Linked DNA regions of Homo sapiens: regions 1, 2, 3, 4, 5 and 7 are each linked to region 6. Evidence: promoter capture Hi-C in 16 types of primary human blood cells and fetal thymus (Javierre and others, 2016). All regions are on one chromosome and are shown on one strand. The core of a region is centred on a gene start or on the middle of the fragment in contact, and the rest is flanking DNA. Distances in the headings are between cores, read along the strand shown.

Region 1 (2,700 bases), core at 71-2,570, 360 kb after region 6:
TCTTTCTGTACCCTTTCAGTCCTGGGCCCCCTCACTAGCTGAGAGCCACACCCTTCCTTGGCTTCAAAGCCAGCCCAGCACTAAGCCATTTTAGTATGTTATGGTTTAGAGGGGGTTCTCAGAATACTTGGGAGGGGAAAAGAGAGAAAAAGAAGAATGTTTTATTTGGTCTCAGAATTTAGGAGGTCATGATGGTGGAGGTGATTTTTTTTTTTTTAAGTTGCAGTAAAAACTTTAAATATTGACAGGTAGCTTTGGGTAAGGATTATAAGACTAAAGGGAGTTTAAGGTACCCTGTTGATGTATAGAGGTTGCCAGCTCAAATTCCTTTTAACAAGGAGTATTATCTTGTTTATATCTTTGTTTTTTAAAAAATTCTTTTCTCTGACGTTCCAATCAGAGAGAATGTATCACTCTTTCCTAAGAGGAGGGTGGTCTGCCCAGAGCCTTCCTTAATTCATCAGAGAGATTCCTGGTGGACACCTAGTTTTTCCTCATGAAAATAAGACTTCTTTGGTCAGCCTTTTACCCTCTTTTAAAATAAAATCCTTAACTAAATTAAATTTAACAGTGTTTAATTGAACAAAGAACAGTTCACTAATTGGGGAGCCTTCTGAGCCACAGTAGGCTCAGAGACTCCAGTGCAGACGTGGTAGAAGATTTATGGACAGAAAAAGGAAAGTGATGAACAAAAAATGGAAGTGAGGTACAGAAACAGCTGGATTGGTTATGGCTCAGCTGGAACAGTTGGCCCCCTTTGAGTGGCCAAAACTCAGTGATTGGCACAAGAGTAGGTTACAGTCTATTTCTACCACCATTTAGGTTATAGTTCATTATGTACAGATAAATCTTTAGGCCAAACTTAAAAGATGTAAGGAGGCATAAACTTGCCTAGGCTAAACTTGATTTAACACTTCTAAATGGAGAAGTTGGGCCTAGCAGGAAGCAGATCCATGAGGAAGCATAGAAAGAGTGAACACTAGGAGAAGGCCATATCCAGAATAATACAGGTTTTGTGACTTGAGTAGTGCTCAGTTGAGATTGTGAAGTGAGCACAGTCCTTTTAATCTTAACGCAAATCAGCTTCAGGGACTTGGAATTAACAGAAGATGAGTCTTCCCAGTGAAGTGAGAAATACTAGAACTGTTCTGACTGAGCATGAAGGTGGAACATGGTTGGGCATGGTGGCTCACGCCTGTAATCCCAGCACTTTGGGAGGCCAAGGCTGGTGGGTCACTTGAGGTCGGGAGTTCAAGACCAGCCTGGCCAACGTGGTGAAACCGTGTCTCTACTAAAAATACAAAAATTAGCCAGGCATAGTGGCACATGCCTATAGTCCCAGCTACTTGGGAGGCTGAAGCAGGAGAATTGCTTGAACCTGGGAGGTGGAGGTTGCAGTGAGCCGAGATGACGGCATTGCATCTGGGCGACAGAGCAAGACTCCATCTCAAAAACAAACAAACAAACAAAAAAAAACGTGGAACATCAAGTGGAGGTAGGGCGGGGTACTTAGACTTTGGACTCTGGTATAAGCACTGATAAGAAGCCATAGAAAGGCCGGGCTCACGCCTGTAATCCCAGCACTTTGGAAGGCCGCGGCGGGTGGATCACGAGGTCAGGAGATCGAGACCATCCTGGCTAACACGGTGAAACCCCGTCTCTACTAAAAATACAAAAAATTAGCCGGGCGTGTTGGCGGGCGCCTGTGGTCCCAGCTACTGGGGAGGCTGAGGCAGGAGAATGCTGTGAACCCGGGAGGCGGAGCTTGCAGTGAGCCGAGATCGCGCCACTGCACTCCATCCTGGGTGACAGAGCGAGACTCCATCTCAAAATAAAAAAAAAGCCATAGAAAATCTTGACAAAATATATTTCTTTGATTTAGAAACAAAATGGCAAGTTTGTTTGTGGTTGAACCGGAATATTTCTTCAAATTTGGGGTCAGGTGCCAGTTAAGGCAAATAAATGCCTTTTAGGTATCTGAAGGGCCCCTTTCTGGCTTGAATGTTATGTAATACAGTTCTGTAGTGTTACAGGTGCTATATTTTGTTGATTAGTATTCTGCAGTAGGAGGCTTGGTATGCTATTTATTTATTTATTTACGTATTTATTTTTGAGACAGGGTCTTACTCTGTCGCCCAGGTGGCAATGTAGTGATTGTGGCTCACTGTGGTCTGGACCTCCTAGACTCAAGCAATTCTCCCACCTCAGCCTCCTGAGTAGCTGGGACTACAGTGTGCACCACCATGCCCAGTTAATTTTTGTAATTTTTTTGTAGAGGTGGGGTTTTGCCATGTTGCCCAGGCTGATCTTTAAACTCCTGGGCTCAAGTGATCTGCCCACCTTGGCCTCCCAAAGTGCTGGGATTACAGGTGTGAGCCACTTTGCCCAGCCCAGTGTGCTTTTGAAAAAAGCCCTTTGCATTCCCTAGAATGGCTGGGCACAGTGGCTCATGCCAGTAATCCCTGCACTTTGGGAGGCCAAGGCAAGAGGATTGCTTGAGCCCACGAGGTCCATGCTGTAGTGAGCTGTGATCACACCACTGCACTCTAGCCAGGGCGACAAGAGCTAGATCCTGTCTCAAAAAAAAAAAAAAAAAATTCCCTAGAACGACATGGAAATGGAGTTTTGCCTGTCATTGTTTTTAGATGGAGAGCATAAATTTGTGACACTCGTTTTGTTGTTGTTGTTTTTGAGACAGAG
Region 2 (2,700 bases), core at 164-2,663, 290 kb after region 6:
GGAGTGGTGATGATTCTTAACGAGCATGCTGCCTTCAAGCATCTGTTTAACAAAGCACATCTTGCACCGCCCTTAATCCATTTAACCCTGAGTGGACACAGCACATGTTTCAGAGAGCACAGGGTTGGGGGTAAGGTCACCGATCAACAGGATCCCAAGGCAGAAGAATTTATCTTAGTACAGAACAAAATGAAAAGTTTCCCGTGTCTACTTCTTTCTACACAGACACGGCAACCATCCGATTTTTCAATCTTTTCCCCACCTTTCCCCCCTTTCTATTCCACAAAACCGCCATTGTCATCCCGGCCCGTTCTCAATGAGCTGTTGGGTACACCTCCCAGACGGGGTGGTGGCTGGGCAGAGGGGCTCCTCACTTCCTAGTAGGGGTGGCCGGGCAGAGGCGCCCCTCACCTCCCGGACCGGGCGGCTGGCCGGGCGGGGGGCTGACCCTCCCACCTCCCTCCTGGACGGGGCGGATGGCCGGGCGGGGGGCTGACCCCCCCCCACCTCCCTCCCGGATGTGGGGCTGACCCCCCCACCTCCCTCCCGGACGGGGCGGCTGGCCGGGCGGGGGGCTGACCCCCACACCTCCCTCCCGGACGGGGCGGCTGGCCGGGCGAGGGGCTGACCCCCCCACCTCCCTCCCGGACGGGGCGGCTGGCCGGGCGGGGGGCTGACCCCCCCACCTCCCTCCCGGACGGGGCGGCTGGCCGGGCTGAGGGGCTCCTCACTTCCCAGTAGGGGCGGCCGGGCAGAGGCGCCCCTCACCTCCCGGACGGGGCGGCTGGCCGGGCGGGGGGCTGACCCCACCTCCCTCCCGGACGGGGCGGCTGGCCGGGTGGGGGGCTGACCCCCCCACCTCCCTCCCGGACGGGGCGGCTGGCCGAGCGGGGGGCTGACCCCCCCACCTCCCTCCCGGACGGGGCGGCAGGCCGGGTGGGGGGCTGACTCCCCCACCTCCCTCCCGGACGGGGTGGCTGGCCAGGCAGAGGGGCTCCTCACTTCCCAGTAGGGGCGGCTGGGCAGAGGCGCCCCTCACCTCCCGGACGGGGCGGCTGGCCGGGCGGGGGGCTGACCCCCCCCACCTCCCTCCTGGACGGGGCGGCTGCCGGGCGGAGACGCTCCTCATTTCCCAGACGGGGTTGGTGCCGGGCAGAGGGGCTCCTCACTTCTCAGATGGGGCGGATGCTGGGCGGAGGGTCTCCTCACTTCTCAGACGGGGCGGCTGGGCAGAGACACTCCTCACCTCCCAGACGGGGTCGCGGCCGGGCAGAGGCGCTCCTCACATCCCGGACGGGGCGGCGGGGCAGAGGCGCTCCCCACATCTCAGACGATGGGCGGCCGGGCAGAGACGCTCCTCACTTCCCAGATGGGATGGCTGCTGGGAAGAGGCGCTCCTCACTTCCTAGATGGGATGGCGGCCGGGCAGAGACGCTCCTCACTTTCCAGACTGGGCAGCCAGGCAGAGGGGCTCTTCACGTCCCAGACGATGGGCGGCCAGGCAGAGACGCTCCTCACTTCCCAGACAGGGTGGCGGCCGGGCAGAGGCTGCAATCTCGGCACTTTGGGAGGCCAAGGCAGGCGGCTGGGAGATGGAGGTTGTAGCGAGCTGAGATCACGCCACTGCACTCCAGCCTGGGCACCATTGAGCACTGAGTGAACCAGACTCCGTCTGCAATCCCGGCACCTCGGGAGGCCAAGGCTGGCGGATCACTCGCGGTTAGGAGCTGGAGACCAGCCCGGCCAACACAGCGAAACCCCGTCTCCACCAAAAAAGTACGAAAACCAGTCAGGCGTGGTGGCGCTTGCCTGCAATCGCAGGCACTCGGTGGGCTGAGGCAGGAGAATCAGGCAGGGAGGTTGCAGTGAGCCGAGATGGCAGCAGTACAGTCCAGCTTCGGCTCGGCATCAGAGGGAGACCGTGGAAAGAGAGGGAGAGGGAGACCGAGAGGGAGAGGGGAGAGGGGAGAGGGGAGAGGGGAGAGGGAGAGGCAGAGGCAGAGGCAGAGGCCAGAATTTGTTTTCATTCTTTATTTTCTTTCCCTAGCTTTTTATTGTTGTTGTTATTTAGTTTTTATTTCATAATCATAAACTTAACTGCAATCCAGCTAGGCATGTAAGGGAACAAGGAAAACACGGAACCCAAAGGGAACTGCAGTGAGAGCACAAAGATTCTAGGATACTGCGAGCAAATGGGGTAGAGGGGTGCTCTCCTGAGAGGAGAGCACAGAAGGAATGGTCTGGTGGTGAAGACAAAACAAGTCAAACTTACTAGACTTATCCACAGTCAGCAATGGTGATCTTCTTGCTGGTCTTGCCATTCCTGGACCCAAAGCGCTCCATGGCCTCTGCAATATTCATGCCTTCTTTCACCTTGCCAAAGACCACATGCTTGCCATCCAACCACTCACTCTTGGCAGTGTAGATGAAAAGCTGGGAACCTTTTGTGTTGGGTCCAGCAATTGCCATGGACAAGGTGCCAGGACCTGTATGCTTTAGGATGAAGTTCTCATCATCAAATTTCTCCCCATAGATGGACTTGCCACCAGTGCCATTATGGCGTGTGAAGTCACCACCTGATACATAAACCCTGGAATAATTCTGTGAAAGCAGGAACTCTTACAACCAAATCCTTTTTGTCCAGTGCTCAGAGCACGAAAGTTTTCTGTTGTCTTTGGAACCTTGTCTGCAAACAGCTCG
Region 3 (2,700 bases), core at 71-2,570, 270 kb after region 6:
TTCACTTCGATCCACTATCCAGTGGCTCACGCTCCTCCAGCCTCAAGTCAGCCCAGGGCACAGGCTTTGAGCTGGGCCAGTTGCAATCCATTCGTTCAGAGGGCACCACCTCCACCTCCTATAAGAGCCTGGCCAACCAGACACGCAATGGAAGCCTATCTTATGACAGCTTGCTCACACCTTCAGACAGCCCTGATTTTGAGTCAGTGCAGGCAGGGCCTGAGCCAGACCCACCTTTAGGCTATACCTCTCCCTTCCTGTCAGCCAGGCTGGCCCAGCAACGGGAAGCTGAGAGGCACCCACGTTTGGTGCCAACTGGCCCAACACACCGAGAGCCCTCACCAGTCCGTTACGACAATCTGTCGCGCCACATTGTGGCCTCTCTCCAGGAACGAGAGAAGTTGCTGCGCCAGTCACCCCCACTCCCGGGCCGTGAGGAAGAACCAGGCTTGGGGGACTCAGGCATTCAGTCAACACCAGGCTCGGGCCATGCCCCTCGTACTAGTTCCTCCTCAGATGATTCAAAGAGATCACCTTTGGGCAAGACTCCACTGGGACGCCCAGCTGTCCCCCGTTTTGGCAAGCCAGATGGGCTAAGGGGCCGGGGAGTAGGGTCCCCTGAACCAGGCCCAACAGCCCCATACCTGGGCCGATCGATGTCTTACAGCAGCCAAAAAGCCCAACCTGGTGTCTCTGAGACAGAAGAAGTGGCCTTGCAGCCATTACTGACACCCAAGTAAGTATTAGTACTATCCTGACCCTTAGCCAATTTCAAATTAGCATACTGCTCTGCAAAAGCTATCAGGGCTTCTGTTGTACATCCTAATGTAGGTGGACCCAGGGGTATCCTGGTAGCTCTTTATTTTCACTTTGACTCTACCTGCCTTCATGGGCAATTCCTGTTAAGAGACTGAAGATTAATACTTTTTCCATAATGCTATCTTCCTAAAAGTATTTGCTTGGGAGTAAGTACATGTGATAGCTGTTACTAGAGAGTAGTAGTACATAGGAGAGATTGGGAATCAGGCTTATTTTAAGCAGGGCAATAAAGGGGAATGTTTGGGTAAGAAAGTATGGATATAGAAAAGAACATCATTTTTTTCTCTGAACCTTTGAAACTGTCTCCCTTTCCAATGTTTTCTGTCCCATTTCCTGACACCTACGTCTTGTCTCTTCTTTCCAGAGATGAAGTACAGCTGAAGACCACCTACAGCAAATCCAACGGGCAGCCCAAGAGCTTAGGCTCAGCCTCCCCTGGCCCAGGCCAGCCACCTCTCAGTAGCCCCACGAGGGGAGGAGTCAAGAAGGTGTCAGGGGTTGGTGGTACCACCTATGAGATTTCGGTGTGAGCCTTCGGCACCTCCCCTCCCCAACGCCTCTGCGCCTACACCAAAGGGCCCCAGGTGGCCACCTTCCTTCCCTCAAGGGGCTCCCCTCCCGTGCATGGACATTTTTTAAACCACCGATTCCAAGAGGATGAGGAGTGTTTTCTAAAATGCAGTAGGCTTGGGGAGTCGGAGAGTTGGGGCCCTGAGACTGGGGTAGCAACCCCCCCTTTTATCTTTTAAGACCTTCCCTTCCTTGATCCCTGGACCAGACTCAGTGGACATTTGTGCAATTGCTCGCCCTGGAGGGAACCAGATCATTTTTAAACCAGAAATAATTTTTTTTATTATTGTTACGGATTCTATTTTTTTCCTCTTCTGCGTTACCAGGTGTGTGTGTACATATAATATATATATATATATATTATAAATATCAAAGAAATTATATATCTATCCTGGGATGGGAAAATGAGGGAGGGATACATATACGGAGGGGGATCTTACTCTTCCCATTCCTCAGACCAGCAGGAAAAGAGGGGAGACGTCAGTCTTTTTCCTGTGGTTCCCTCTCATTTGTCCCAGTTACTAACTACGGAAATAGCATCCTCTGCTGGTGCTAAGTGTGATTAGGAAGAAGCCTGGGGAGAGGTGAGTCTGGAATTTTGGTCACAAGAGGGAAGGACTTGGAGAGGAGAATTAGTTTTCTAGGCTCATTGGCATTTAGTTTCCCTAGGAAAGGGGTCAAAACTTCAAGACACTGGTGGTGGTGGGAGATCAGGAAAATAACTTGGCCTAGCTCAAACAATATTGGATAATCCCCTCCTTGGGGGAGAGGGATTAGAGTGTGCTCCTACTGGCCCCTTGGAGCCTCCCCTAGCTTACACAGTTAACTTGATTTTAAAATCCAAGGCCAGGAGAGAAGAATCCAAAAAGCAATATTTTTCATCACATGCCAAAAACGGGGGATAGAGAGAAGGAGTGGCAGGCCTAGGCCCCTCCGATTGTCCCTTGGGGGTTACCCCTCAGCCCACCTCACTATGGTGCTGGGTAGAGGGGATACCTGGGTTCTAACCTCTAAATAGGGGAGATCCCAGCCTCCACAAAGAGGCCCTTTTATTTTTTATTCTGATTAGCCATTTTAAACCAACGAGGAATAAAAAGAAATCCTGATCTAACCAGCGCCCCCTGACTTGTGTTATTTTGTCTGGTTGAGACAGGGTGAACGATCTCTGGTGGGAAGTTATCAGTGACAACCTCATAAACTTCTCTGGTCCCAGCCCATCTTTAGGCAAGACTATAATGAAATTAGCCACTTAACAACTAAAAAAATAAAAAAGAGACCCAGTGCGGTGGCTTATACCTGTAATCCCAGCAC
Region 4 (2,700 bases), core at 91-2,590, 370 kb after region 6:
TAATAGTTTAGAAGACAACCAATTTTGTTTTACCAGCTGTTTGGGCATTTTTAGTACCCCCTTCTTGATTTGAAGGGTTTAATCTTGACCTTTTTTTTTTTTTCTTCGAAATAGAGTCTCGCTCTGTCACTTAGGCTGGAGTGCAGTGGCACAATCTCAGTTCACTGCAACCTCCACCTCTTGGGTTCAAGCGATTCTCTTGCCTCCGCCTCCCAAGTAGCTGGGATTACAGGTGCCCACCACCATGCCCAGCTAATTTTTGTATTTTTAGTAGAGATGGTGTTTTTCCATGTTGGCCATGCTGGTCTCGAACTTCTGACCTCAGGTAATCCGCCCACTGCAGCCTCCCAAAGTGCTGGGATTACAGATGTGAGCCACCATGCCTGGTCCTGTTTCCGTGTTATTTTAAGACCATCTTGGTCATGGTTTACTAAATGCTTTGTCCATCTGAATCACTGTTGCATAGTTGATGTTGATACCTGTGAGGCAGGCCTTCTGCTCAGGGCAACCTTGAGTATTTGTTGACAGTGGGAGTGGTTTTGTAGAACAAACAATGGCTTATTTGGAGAGCTCCACACAATAGATTATCCTCTCCTGTGGGAGCCAGAAAGAGATGAGCTCACAGATAATGGGTTTCTTCCTTCCTGGTAGTTACGAATAAATAATAGTGTGACAGACTCACCCTCTAGTGGTTGTTGGTAGTACTGAAACAGGAAGAATTGTCTCCTGGTTTGATTTTTCTTACTTTCAATTGCTTTCTCTGTTCCTAGTGGCTGGGCTTCCCAAATGTGATGTTGGTGAATAGGCTTCATTTTGAAAGAGCTGGAGGTATTGTCTTTAGAAATTGGAGGATGGAATCTTACCTCTTAACACATTTGTTGAGTAGCAGACATGACCTTGGAATGACTGTGAAAATTACTTTTCAAGTTTATACCTCATCAGTACCAAAGCCAGATCCTCCTGTGATGTAGCAGGAAGCCCTTTATTAGTTTTTCTCTATCAATCCATCTTTTATAATTTCCAAAATAGGATAAGGAGAAGCTTAAATATGAAATGTATTTAAAGGTCTTATCCTACCAGTTGTTTCCTGTGTGTAAATGCCTAATTTCCTGTTTGGTTAAGGAACTGTTCTCAGACTTCTGTGGCATTGAGTCAGTTGCTTTGGTTAATTCTGTTCTCTGAGAGTTTATCCTGATCTCTACCTAGACAAGTTAATAACTGTCAGATATCATTCAAATAAATGATAAGTAGTAAGGATTTGGTTCTTTCTTTTTGATTAGCCTTTCCTGAATGCTTGTTACTTTCTAAGCCTGCAGACTTCAAAGAAAAAAATGTAGTTTTAATTAAATTGCAGGTGTTTTTAAAATTATTACCTTTTATTTTTACTAACCCATTGAGGAAAATTGATCAGTATATTATTCATGCAAAGGAGAGATAAGATGAGCACACTGAAACTCCAGTTAATCCTCCTTTGCAGATGAGGGTAATGGGAATGTCCAGGAAGCTAGCCATAATGACTTGATGTATTCTCTTGGTTCTTCCAAAACTTCTCAGGAGCTATGAAGACATGATTGGTGAGGAGGTGCCATCGGATCAATACTACTGGGCTCCTTTGGCCCAGCATGAGCGAGGAAGTTTAGCAAGCTTGGATAGCCTGCGCAAAGGAGGGCCTCCACCTCCTAATTGGAGACAGCCAGAGCTGCCAGAGGTGATCGCCATGCTTGGATTCCGCTTGGATGCTGTCAAGTCCAATGCAGCTGCATACCTGCAACACTTATGCTACCGCAATGACAAGGTGAAGACTGACGTGCGGAAGCTCAAGGGCATCCCAGTACTGGTGGGATTGTTAGACCATCCCAAAAAGGAAGTGCACCTTGGAGCCTGTGGAGCTCTCAAGAATATCTCTTTTGGACGTGACCAGGATAACAAGATTGCCATAAAAAACTGTGATGGTGTGCCTGCCCTTGTGCGATTGCTTCGAAAGGCTCGTGATATGGACCTTACTGAAGTTATTACCGGTGAGTTCTAGGCCTAAGGAAAATTGCTAAGTCAGTGTTACTCTCTAGTGATGTTGAGAACTAGAGGGATTTCCAGACCTTTTACTTTTGATGAAAGGTTGTGAACTGGTGGCTGTGGGTCAAATCCATCTCACAGATTTGTTTGGATCACACAGCATTATTGAAATTTTAAAGAACTGGTTGCTGATGTTTAAAATTCAGAAGATTTCACTTAAAATTCCAGATTCTTGGCTTCTATTAAAAACGTGGAAGAGTTGTTAACAATGGATCTCTTTTCTTCCTTAGCAGTATTTGGTCTGAACTGATTGGAGCATGTGCTCTCTAATTTACACTAATCTCCAACACATTCTATTATCTGACCAACTACAGCTGTTTAGGAAGTTGTTTCCCAAACATGGAGCTGTCAACTGCTATTTTTTCACATGCTTGTAATTTCTTTTAATTATCTTCCTCTCTTGACTCACCGGCTTGACCCATATAGACATTTAAGCTTGTGGTTCTTGCTTTATTTAGAGCAGTAGTTTTTCAGATTGTGGGTTGTGATCTATTTGTGTGATCCGTTAGTGAATAAAACAAAATTTTGTGGAGCATAATCAGCATTCCAAGGGAAAGGAATAAAGAAAAAGTAGTATAGACCATTGTTTCTCAGTTGTGGGCCATTTTGCCTGCCCTGCCCTGAGGA
Region 5 (2,700 bases), core at 113-2,612, 320 kb after region 6:
AAGCCCAGGCGGGTGGATCACTTGAGGCCAGGAGTTTGAGACCAGCCTGGCCATCATGGCAAAACCTCATCTCTACTAAAAATACAAAAGTTAGCTGGGCGTAGTGGCGCATGCCTGTAATCTCAGCTACTTGAGAAAGCTAAGGCATGAGAATCACTTGAACCCAGGAGGTGGAGGTTGCAGGTAGCTGTGATTGTGCCACCACACTCCTGCCTGGGCAAGAGAGTGAGACTCTCAAAAAGAAAACATAATAGTATCATCTAACACATATTGTGGTTAGTATATTAAAAGCACTATTCTAAGTGCTTACCCACATTAACTCTTAATCTTCACAACCATCCCATTGGAATATTATCCATGTTATATAGAATGTATCTGCTTATAAAACTTTACAATTAGATTCATTATTTAAGAGAAAGAAGCAAAGTCACAATTTCACTCTTGAAAACAGTAGTAATTGTCCTAGAAACAAACAGCCCTTTACCAAATAGTTTACAGTGGTCATAGGCAGTAATATTTTGCTGATTTTGTCCTTTACCCTCTGGCTCTGAACTCATTTTATCTTATTCTATGGTGAGTTTTCAGTTGAATTCCGACCACTCTCTTACCTTCTGCCTGCAGAAGGACATCACAGAACACATCACTCTGCTGCTGGTGATGAAGCTGCAGAAAAGCTAACCTGAGGAACCGGGGGTTCCTGTATAGGATTTTGGGACTGGCAGGAGAGCACATGTTGGCAAGAGTCTTAACAAACCTTCTAGGTTTTCACAGATCAGACTCCTGTAGGTGAGATAATACATTTCAGAGGCATGGTTACATCTAATTTGTTTTTTGTCTTTGAAATGGCAGGGGAATTTTGAAAGTGAGAGATAATAGTATGAGTTGAGGAAACATCAGCCCAGAAATTGTGCCAAGGATATCTCAAGAAAGAAAATTATCATAGTGGTTACATGTGGGAGCTCAGAGATAAGCCTAGGTTTGGGTCTTGGCTCTATTTATTAGCCTGGCTGTATAATCTCACACAGGTGACCTAACTTCTCTGAGTCTCACTTTCCTATCCATGAAATAGAATAATAGTACTTACCTTGTAGGGTTGTTTTAAAGATTAAATGAGTCAGTGAAGGTAAAGTTGCTTAGCACAGTGAGTGCCTGGCACAAAATAACTACCAAGCCCCAAATGGTAACTATTATTATCCTTCAACCTTCCTCATTTCCATTACCACTGAGACTCAACTGCTACAATGCTGACTACTTATATTCTTCCTGAGCACCACATCCCAGCTCCACAGGTATAATCTTCAAGTTAACACTTTTAAGGAAACATTACTGGGTATAAAATTATCTCTAGTAAGTCGTATGCGCCTTTTCTCTGAGCTCACTGTATCACACTAACCAGCAGAGGGTGCACAATAAAGAAGAGAAGCCTCTGACTCTGCGGGAAGGTCTCTCACAGAACCAAGGACGTTGCCACCCTTGGCTGGGTGTACTTGACCAAAGCGAGCCTGACTGACCCTGGTAGTAGGCAAAGAATTTGGCCTTTACGTTTGTATAGTTAATTACCAGGCTAACAATGCAGCAAGGATAGTAAAGCATTTTACCCCTCCCAAAACAAACTGAGTATTCTGACTTCAGGCTTATGTCCAGCTTTTTAGCTCCGAAACCCCCCCACTCACTGCACAGCTGTGTTCCTTTCCTGGAATGCAGTTTTCTATCAGGTAGCACTGAGGGTCCGAACAGTTCACGTCAAAACTATCAGGAAAGAAGAATGAAAAGGTAAATTAAGAGAAGGCGGGCTTGGCTGGGCGGGGTGGCTCACGCCTGTAATCCCAGCACTTTGGGAGGCCGAGGCGGGTGGATCACCTGAGGTTAGGAGTTTGAGACCAGCCTGGCCAACATGGTGACTCCCCGTCTCTACAAAAATACGAAAATTAGCCGGGCATGGTGGCAGGCGCCTGTAATCTCAGCTACTCAGGAGGCTGAGGTGGGAGAATCGCTTGAACCTGGGAGGCAGAGGTTGTAGATAGAGCCACTGCACTCCAGCCTGGGCGACAGAGCGAGACTCCGTCTCAAAAAAAAAAAAAAAATTCCCATCCCAGTGAGAGAGATGTGGATGGAGGATGGCAGCTGTTGCAAGGGCCCTGGGGAAGCTTCTCAATCCACGATCGCCTGGCCTTGCCTCCAGACCCAACTTGAAATAGCTTTTCGGTAGACTTTGCTCCTGTTGCCTTCTCTGTGCTTGTCCTCTGTCCAGCCTGCCTTGCTTCCTCTCAATGTTCAGCGTTGAGTCAGGAGGCTGAGCAAAGATGCGCAGGTGGGCCAACGGCTGAGTGCTTCACCTCCCCATCCAGAAGCAAGGGAATCGGTGTTGGCGGAGAAAGCAGGGCTTCAGGGAGAGCCCTGCAAAGCGGGGTGGCCCGCACGCTTGGGCGCCCTGGCCCAACTCCTTTGAAGAAAGACTCCTAGGCGCGAGGGTTTCTGGGAATGGACCGTGGGGATCCGGGAGGCCCAAAGTCAGGACTTCCCGTCACGGCCACCTCCGCCAGCATAGACTTTGCAGGCAGCCCCTGGCGCCCTTGTATCCCTGCGGGCTTCAGCACCCACATGCACTGGGTGGTAGTGATAGCGAGGGTTGTAAGGCCACGCGGCCAGCGCCACACACCTCGTGCCACCGTCCTAGCGCGCTGCGCGTCGCAGAGCCCT
Region 6 (2,700 bases), core at 18-2,517:
CAAGTGGGGTGAGAGCTGCTGACCCTTCCTCTCATCATAGAAAGAGGGGTGGGCAGGGGGCAGAGTCCTTCCTGCTCCTTGCCACCACGTGGGAGCCAGACTTAACTTCCTTAGAAAAGTCATCCCTGCCCTTACCAGCCTGCCCTGTGGCATTGCCAATCGGCCCAGCATCTGGTCCACACAGATCCTTAAAGTAATCTTCATTCTTGAAGACAAACACTAGTGAAGGCCAGCCAAAGAGGACGCCAGCAAAGCCCAGGCATTCCAGCAGCCCAGTCAGCAGTGTGGCCACGTGCAGGGGCAGGCCCTGGCCCGCCATGAGCAGAAGTGGAGTGGATCTTCAAATCCCACTTTGTCCTCCTGGACGGATCACAGGCGCCGTAAGCCTGGCGTTTGAGCACTTGGAAAATTCCTCTGGCAAGCCAAGCCCTTCCTTTCCCGTAGCTCTCTGGTTGTTTCAGGCCTGGGCAAAAACCATCAGCGGGTGATTCTCTGGATCCTGTAGAATAAAGATAGAGGCTGCTGGAAGAGGAGGCCTGCGGGAAAGGGAAAGGTAGACTAGAGTTATTTGTGAGGTGCATTAAGAGGCAGGATGATCATGGCCGCTGGCAGCAAATGTGGGGAATAAATACTCCAATACATCATCTTAGGCACTGCATTTGAGTAACCACGTGGCAAGTAGAGAGGCAGGTCTTGATGGCCACCTGGAGTCACAGGTGAGATAAACGACTTACCCAATAGCTCCCCGGGAGCAGGTGGAGAAGCGGAGCTCCTGCGCTCGAATTCTGAATACCGTCCCCTAAAATAATGACAGCAACTCAACCAGGTGCAGAGGCAGGGAGATTTCATACAGAAGACACAAACTCCCGCTGCCAAGTTGGTGTTATCTTCAGTTTACTGACAATGAAACAAAAGCTCCCATGGATTTCAGGAACTTGCCCAAGGTCACAGGGCTAGTTTAGTCACGACGCAGGCCATTCTACTGCCAGAAATACCCCCAACTCCCATGACCCTCGCCTAGGACTCGCAAACCTGGTCCCCGCCGCCCTTCCTCGCATCAACTTCTACCAGGAAAGCCTCCGGGGGCCGCTCCCCGCCAGCCTCCGCACCCCGCTCCAGCCTGCGGCCTGCCCTCCCCGCAGAGGAGCCCGAGGGGCCAGGCCGCGCTCGGCGCCCCATGGCGCCCGAAAGGGGACCCTTCGCCCTACCCGCCTGCTCCGCGCCGGGGCTCTCCGCGCCCTTTCCGCACGGGCCAGGTTCGCATTCGCGCCTCTCGCAGCCCCTCCCAGTCCCCTGCTCGCCTCCGCCCCCTCCTGCCCGCCCGGAAGGGGCTGGGGCAGACCTCCCACTCTCCATCACTTCCTTCTTCTTTTCCCTTGCTCACAGCCTCCCGCGCCCTTTTTACCTCTCCCTCTTGAAACTTCTCCCTCTAGAACCCCCTAGAACCCCAGCGGTGTCTTTCCCTCCCTCCTCGCTGCCTTTCAGCCTCCCAGCCCCCTTGCCTCTGCCTCCCCTAACCAAGTTAGTTGAATGCTGTTACTCGCTCAGGCCCACCTAGGGAAAATGTCACACCCAGCACCCAGAGGACACACAGACAGCACATGAGGGCATAGGGACACACACACTCTATTTGTGCATTTTGCCTTGACCGCTGGGTTGGCAGGGAACATATTTTTCCTATTTGCTCACCAGCTTAACCGTCTCTCCCAGTTTCACACTCCCAGAGCTGCCAAAAAAATCCCAACCACAGAATCAGGAAGCCAAGAACCAGGACTGAGGGCTTTTCAGAAACCATCCCCTGGAGGACTGCCCCATATTTTCACTCCCAAAAACCCCTTAGATGACTCCCTGCCTCACCCCCGCCCCCCAGGTTCTGAAAGAGCCTTCCCGCCAGACTGCATTGATTAACCATTCATTGCCCCATTTTTTATTAATCAAAGACATATATAATTGCTCATCGGAGCTTGTGATCAGCGTGAGGCCTTACTAAGCAGCTGCCTTACTATCCTTCCAGCCCAGAGCACGTGAGCTGACGTCTTCTTTGGCCTGTGTGGCCGTTTCCTTGCCAAAAGCTCAGTTTGGGGAGAGCTTCTTGCGTATTAGATGCAGTCTGCAGACTCCCAACCCCAGCTACCTGGATCCCCTGAGGGCCCAGGAACTCCAGCTATTCCAAGCCCACTCCTCTTTTTTTTAAGAGGAAGAAATAGAGGTTACGATAGGGGACAGCCAGAACTGAGGATTTTCCAGCTCACCACCAAAGCACAAAAGATAAAAGTCTGCAACCACCCTAGTGACTTGACTGAATGGAGGAAGGGTGGCTGGGGTCCTGTACCCCAAGCTACTCACTAGTTATACAACCTGAGGCAAGCTCTTTGGCTGCCCCACCTGTAAGACGAGGACAATAGTACCTTAATTATAGGAATTGTCATAAAAGAAGTATAAGATGGGTGTATGAGGTCCCTGCATGGCGCAGGTGCTATAGGCAGATTGTAGGGTAGTAGATTTTCTAGTCTGCAGTTATGTAGACAGAGCCAGAGAAGCAGCTCTGGGGAGGAATTTCAAAGGAACTTGCCCACGGTCATTCTACAAAGCTGCAGTACCTTCCCAACTCTGAAACGTATGCTCTCATCACCCCGTCTTAACAAACATTTGGACATTAGAGAAAACAAGTCTTTTCTTAAAATAACATTATTTATGGGA
Region 7 (2,700 bases), core at 126-2,625, 390 kb after region 6:
TAACCTTGAATAAGGCCCACTGTAATACGTAGCTCTCTTAAATATAACACTTAGGACTAGAAGATTAGAAACTACCAATCCCAACTACGTAATAGGAAAATGTAGGATCAAAAGGCCCATGTATATAAGTACTGACCACTGGGCCATAATGTTGCTTCTCAGGCTATATGCAGTCCTTTAGTCAGAAGTCAATAGGCCTATTTATTAATATTTTACAGACCATATTACCTGGATTACCAGGGACTATCTTTGCTGCAGAGATCAAGGGTTAAGATCTATGGGAAGATACTTATTTTTCTGAGGTCCTTATGTCCTGTCATATAATTAAAGACTCAAGAGAATTTATGTGAAATGCTTTCTGTATGCCCAAATCTTTAGATTAAAATTATATAGCTGCTCCTGATGATGGTCCTGTCTTGTTTTATTGAACTAGGACTTGGGTATGAAAACTTTCATGGGCTAGTGAGACCAGGAAATCAACTAGCTTTTAAAGCTTGATTTGTGTCTAACAATTGTAGTGTTAGATTAGAGGTTGAAGTACAAAGCCAAAAAGCTATTAAGAGTTTACTTTCCAAAGAGTTTTGATAGCCCTGCTTGAGATGATTTTTATCTAAATAGAAAAGCCTGGCTGCTTGTCAGCAACACTTTATTTCCCTGTTATGTTCTTATCCTTTGGCATTGAGCTAGATACAAACCCTACTCTTCTCTCTTCCTTCTGGATTGGTCCATTTGTTTATCTCATTCAATAAATATTTGCCAAGCACCTCCTATATGCTAAGCGTTGTGTCAAGGTTAGGTTTAGATTAGAGAGTGAAACAGATGGATCTTTTCTCATAGATTGCAATCCATGAGAATCCTCTATAGCTAAGATCTATGATCAGACGAGATCGTGTGCGTTCAGGGTGATATGGCCATAGACAAGATCTATGATCTTAAAAACACTTCTCTCTGTGCCATATCTAAATACAATGAGATGTTACACAGAATGATGTGTAAAGGCCCTATCTCACAAGTTTCTTGACACTGATGTACTTTGTGACAGAGGTCAAAGCTGGGACCTCACTTGGCCACTTTTTTTTTTTTAGACAGAGTCTTGCTCTGTCACTCAGGGGCACAATCTCGGCTCACTGCAACCTCAGCCTCCTGGGTTCAAGCGATTCTTCTGCCTCAGCCTCCCGAGTAGCTGGGATTACAGGTGTGTACCACCACGCCTGGCTAATTTTGTATTTTTAGTAGAGACAGGATTTCACCATGTTGGCCAGGCTGGTCTCAAACTCCTGACCTCAAGTGATCCACCCTTCTTGGCCTCCCAAAGTGCTGGCATTACAGGTGTGAGGCACTGCGCATGGCCGGCCACTTGTTTTTCTTGCTGAACTAATTTTCTTTGCTACAAACTGGAATCACCTCACCCAGGAAGAACTAAGAACCAGTCTTTCCATATCATTTTTTTCTCATTTTGTCTATTTTTATATCTGAAGCAAAGGTTCTTAATATTTTCATAGATGGAATTGACTAGACCTAGCCCTGTATATCTGAGCAAGTTACATAAGAATTCCCTGTATGCTTGTTGAAAATGCAGAGTCCCATGTTCCATTTCCAAAAATCGATTCAGTAGGTGGGACTGAGGAATCTAAAATCATGGTAAGTCATCCAGGTTATCCTCTTTTTTTTTGTTTTTGTTTTTGTTTTTTTTTTTGAGACGGAATTTCACTCTTGTCACCCGGGCTGGAGTGCAATGCCACGATCTCAGCTCAGTGCAACCTCTGCCTCCCGGATTAAAGCGATTCTCCTGCCTCAGCCTCTTGATGAGCTGGGACTACAGGCACCCGCCACCACATCCAGCTAATACTTGTATTTTTAGTAGAGACGGGGTTTCACCATGTTGGCCAGGCTGGTCTTGAACTCCTGACCTCAGGTGATCCATCCACCTAGGCCTCCCAAAGTGCTGGGATTACAGGCATAAGCCACCATGCCTGGCCCATCCAGGTTATTCTGATGTATGTGGTCAGTTAACTGTGACTTAAGGGACTGATCTAGTGACTTGCTTAAGGTTATAGCCTCAAAGTGGAACCCAGGATTACTGGCTTCAACTCCACTGGCAGTAATACTAGCATGGTGAATGTAGACAATATGATGTGGTGATCACCATTTTAAGAGAGCATTCATAGAGGAAACTTTATCTCAAAGGAATGCATTGCTTTCAATAGAGTTTGAGATAATGGTAAGTGATAGGTTGGTGTGTGGTATCTGGGTAGGAGAAGCTTCTCATCCTGAAAATCATATGTAGGTAATGCTCAGGTTGCTGAGGCAGGAAGCTAGCCCTTAATTTGGGGTCCTGTAGGTCACAGAGAATCCCCTGGAATTGCCGACTTTGACTTAAGTGTCACTTCTAGCTACAAAGGGTATCTCAACTGGCGAGCAAGTGGCCCCATTGGCTAAAGCCAAGGAGACCACATCTGGAAACTTAAATCACTCTGGTAGCTTCCAGAAAGAGCTACCTCAGGAAAGCTCAAAAAAGAAACAAGATAATTGTTAGGAACAATTTTTTTTCACACAGCTTTAAGACTGTTCTGTTGCCTGTGTCACTTAAAGCATTAGTTCTTCAACTGATCCATCCAGGATTTAGAGACAGACATGGATGAAGAGAAAGCTGGAGGAGGTAAGATAGGTTGATTGGTCTGCATCATTTTAACCTGACAT

The links. The method cuts DNA at HindIII sites, captures the fragments that hold promoters and counts their contacts. A CHiCAGO score of 5 or more calls a contact.
Region 1: a contact is called between a fragment that was not itself captured here and the fragment with the promoter of SLC43A3 in region 6, in 7 of 17 cell types (activated CD4 T cells, erythroblasts, monocytes and 4 more). The highest score is 8.1, in activated CD4 T cells.
Region 2: a contact is called between a fragment that was not itself captured here and the fragment with the promoter of SLC43A3 in region 6, in 3 of 17 cell types (activated CD4 T cells, total CD8 T cells and monocytes). The highest score is 8.5, in activated CD4 T cells.
Region 3: a fragment that was not itself captured here is called in contact with the fragment with the promoter of SLC43A3 in region 6 in 3 of 17 cell types (neutrophils, erythroblasts and monocytes); the score reaches 6.8 in neutrophils.
Region 4: a contact is called between a fragment that was not itself captured here and the fragment with the promoter of SLC43A3 in region 6, in 4 of 17 cell types (fetal thymus, total CD8 T cells, erythroblasts and 1 more). The highest score is 7.9, in fetal thymus.
Region 5: the fragment with the promoter of BTBD18 here is called in contact with the fragment with the promoter of SLC43A3 in region 6 in 2 of 17 cell types (total CD8 T cells and erythroblasts); the score reaches 5.8 in total CD8 T cells.
Region 7: a fragment that was not itself captured here is called in contact with the fragment with the promoter of SLC43A3 in region 6 in 6 of 17 cell types (fetal thymus, neutrophils, naive CD4 T cells and 3 more); the score reaches 7.1 in fetal thymus.

What each region holds. Positions count from the first base shown.
Region 1 is chr11:57,781,831-57,784,530 of GRCh38, forward strand. The region is part of intron 1 of CTNND1 (catenin delta 1); the gene reads left to right. All of the region lies in intron 2 of TMX2-CTNND1 (TMX2-CTNND1 readthrough (NMD candidate)), which reads left to right. Among named protein-coding and RNA genes, the nearest start is that of CTNND1, 21 kb to the left of the region's middle. RefSeq lists an enhancer at 2,426-2,700. The HindIII fragment of the contact is 3,687 bases long and covers 1-2,700 here.
Region 2 is chr11:57,715,769-57,718,468 of GRCh38, forward strand. The region is part of intron 1 of TMX2 (thioredoxin related transmembrane protein 2); the gene reads left to right. All of the region lies in intron 1 of TMX2-CTNND1 (TMX2-CTNND1 readthrough (NMD candidate)), which reads left to right. It also overlaps the pseudogene PPIAP42. Among named protein-coding and RNA genes, the nearest start is that of TMX2, 4.5 kb to the left of the region's middle. RefSeq lists an enhancer at 1-295. The HindIII fragment of the contact is 5,340 bases long and covers 1-2,700 here.
Region 3 is chr11:57,698,683-57,701,382 of GRCh38, forward strand. ZDHHC5 (zDHHC palmitoyltransferase 5) reads left to right here. Exons shown (of 12, transcript NM_015457.3): 11 at 1-736; 12 at 1,184-2,500. The coding sequence ends at 1,349. Among named protein-coding and RNA genes, the nearest start is that of MED19, 12 kb to the right of the region's middle. The HindIII fragment of the contact is 3,103 bases long and covers 1-2,700 here.
Region 4 is chr11:57,800,179-57,802,878 of GRCh38, forward strand. CTNND1 (catenin delta 1) reads left to right here. Exons shown (of 21, transcript NM_001085458.2): 7 at 1,555-2,018. TMX2-CTNND1 (TMX2-CTNND1 readthrough (NMD candidate)) reads left to right here. Exons shown (of 21, transcript NR_037646.1): 8 at 1,555-2,018. Among named protein-coding and RNA genes, the nearest start is that of CTNND1, 40 kb to the left of the region's middle. RefSeq lists an enhancer at 335-574. The HindIII fragment of the contact is 603 bases long and covers 1,040-1,642 here.
Region 5 is chr11:57,750,457-57,753,156 of GRCh38, forward strand. BTBD18 (BTB domain containing 18) reads right to left here and starts at 1,363. Exons shown (of 3, transcript NM_001145101.3): 1 at 1,085-1,363; 2 at 609-780. The coding sequence starts at 732. All of the region lies in intron 2 of TMX2-CTNND1 (TMX2-CTNND1 readthrough (NMD candidate)), which reads left to right. The HindIII fragment of the contact is 11,151 bases long and covers 1-2,145 here.
Region 6 is chr11:57,425,854-57,428,553 of GRCh38, forward strand. SLC43A3 (solute carrier family 43 member 3) reads right to left here and starts at 1,268. Exons shown (of 14, transcript NM_199329.3): 1 at 1,209-1,268; 2 at 735-799; 3 at 136-499. The coding sequence starts at 319. RefSeq lists enhancers at 1-884, 1-785 and a silencer at 1,028-1,387. The HindIII fragment of the contact is 9,438 bases long and covers 1-2,700 here.
Region 7 is chr11:57,818,778-57,821,477 of GRCh38, forward strand. It overlaps CTNND1 (catenin delta 1), which reads left to right. Exons shown (of 21, transcript NM_001085458.2): 21 at 1-763. It overlaps TMX2-CTNND1 (TMX2-CTNND1 readthrough (NMD candidate)), which reads left to right. Exons shown (of 21, transcript NR_037646.1): 21 at 1-403. Among named protein-coding and RNA genes, the nearest start is that of CTNND1, 58 kb to the left of the region's middle. The HindIII fragment of the contact is 1,768 bases long and covers 492-2,259 here.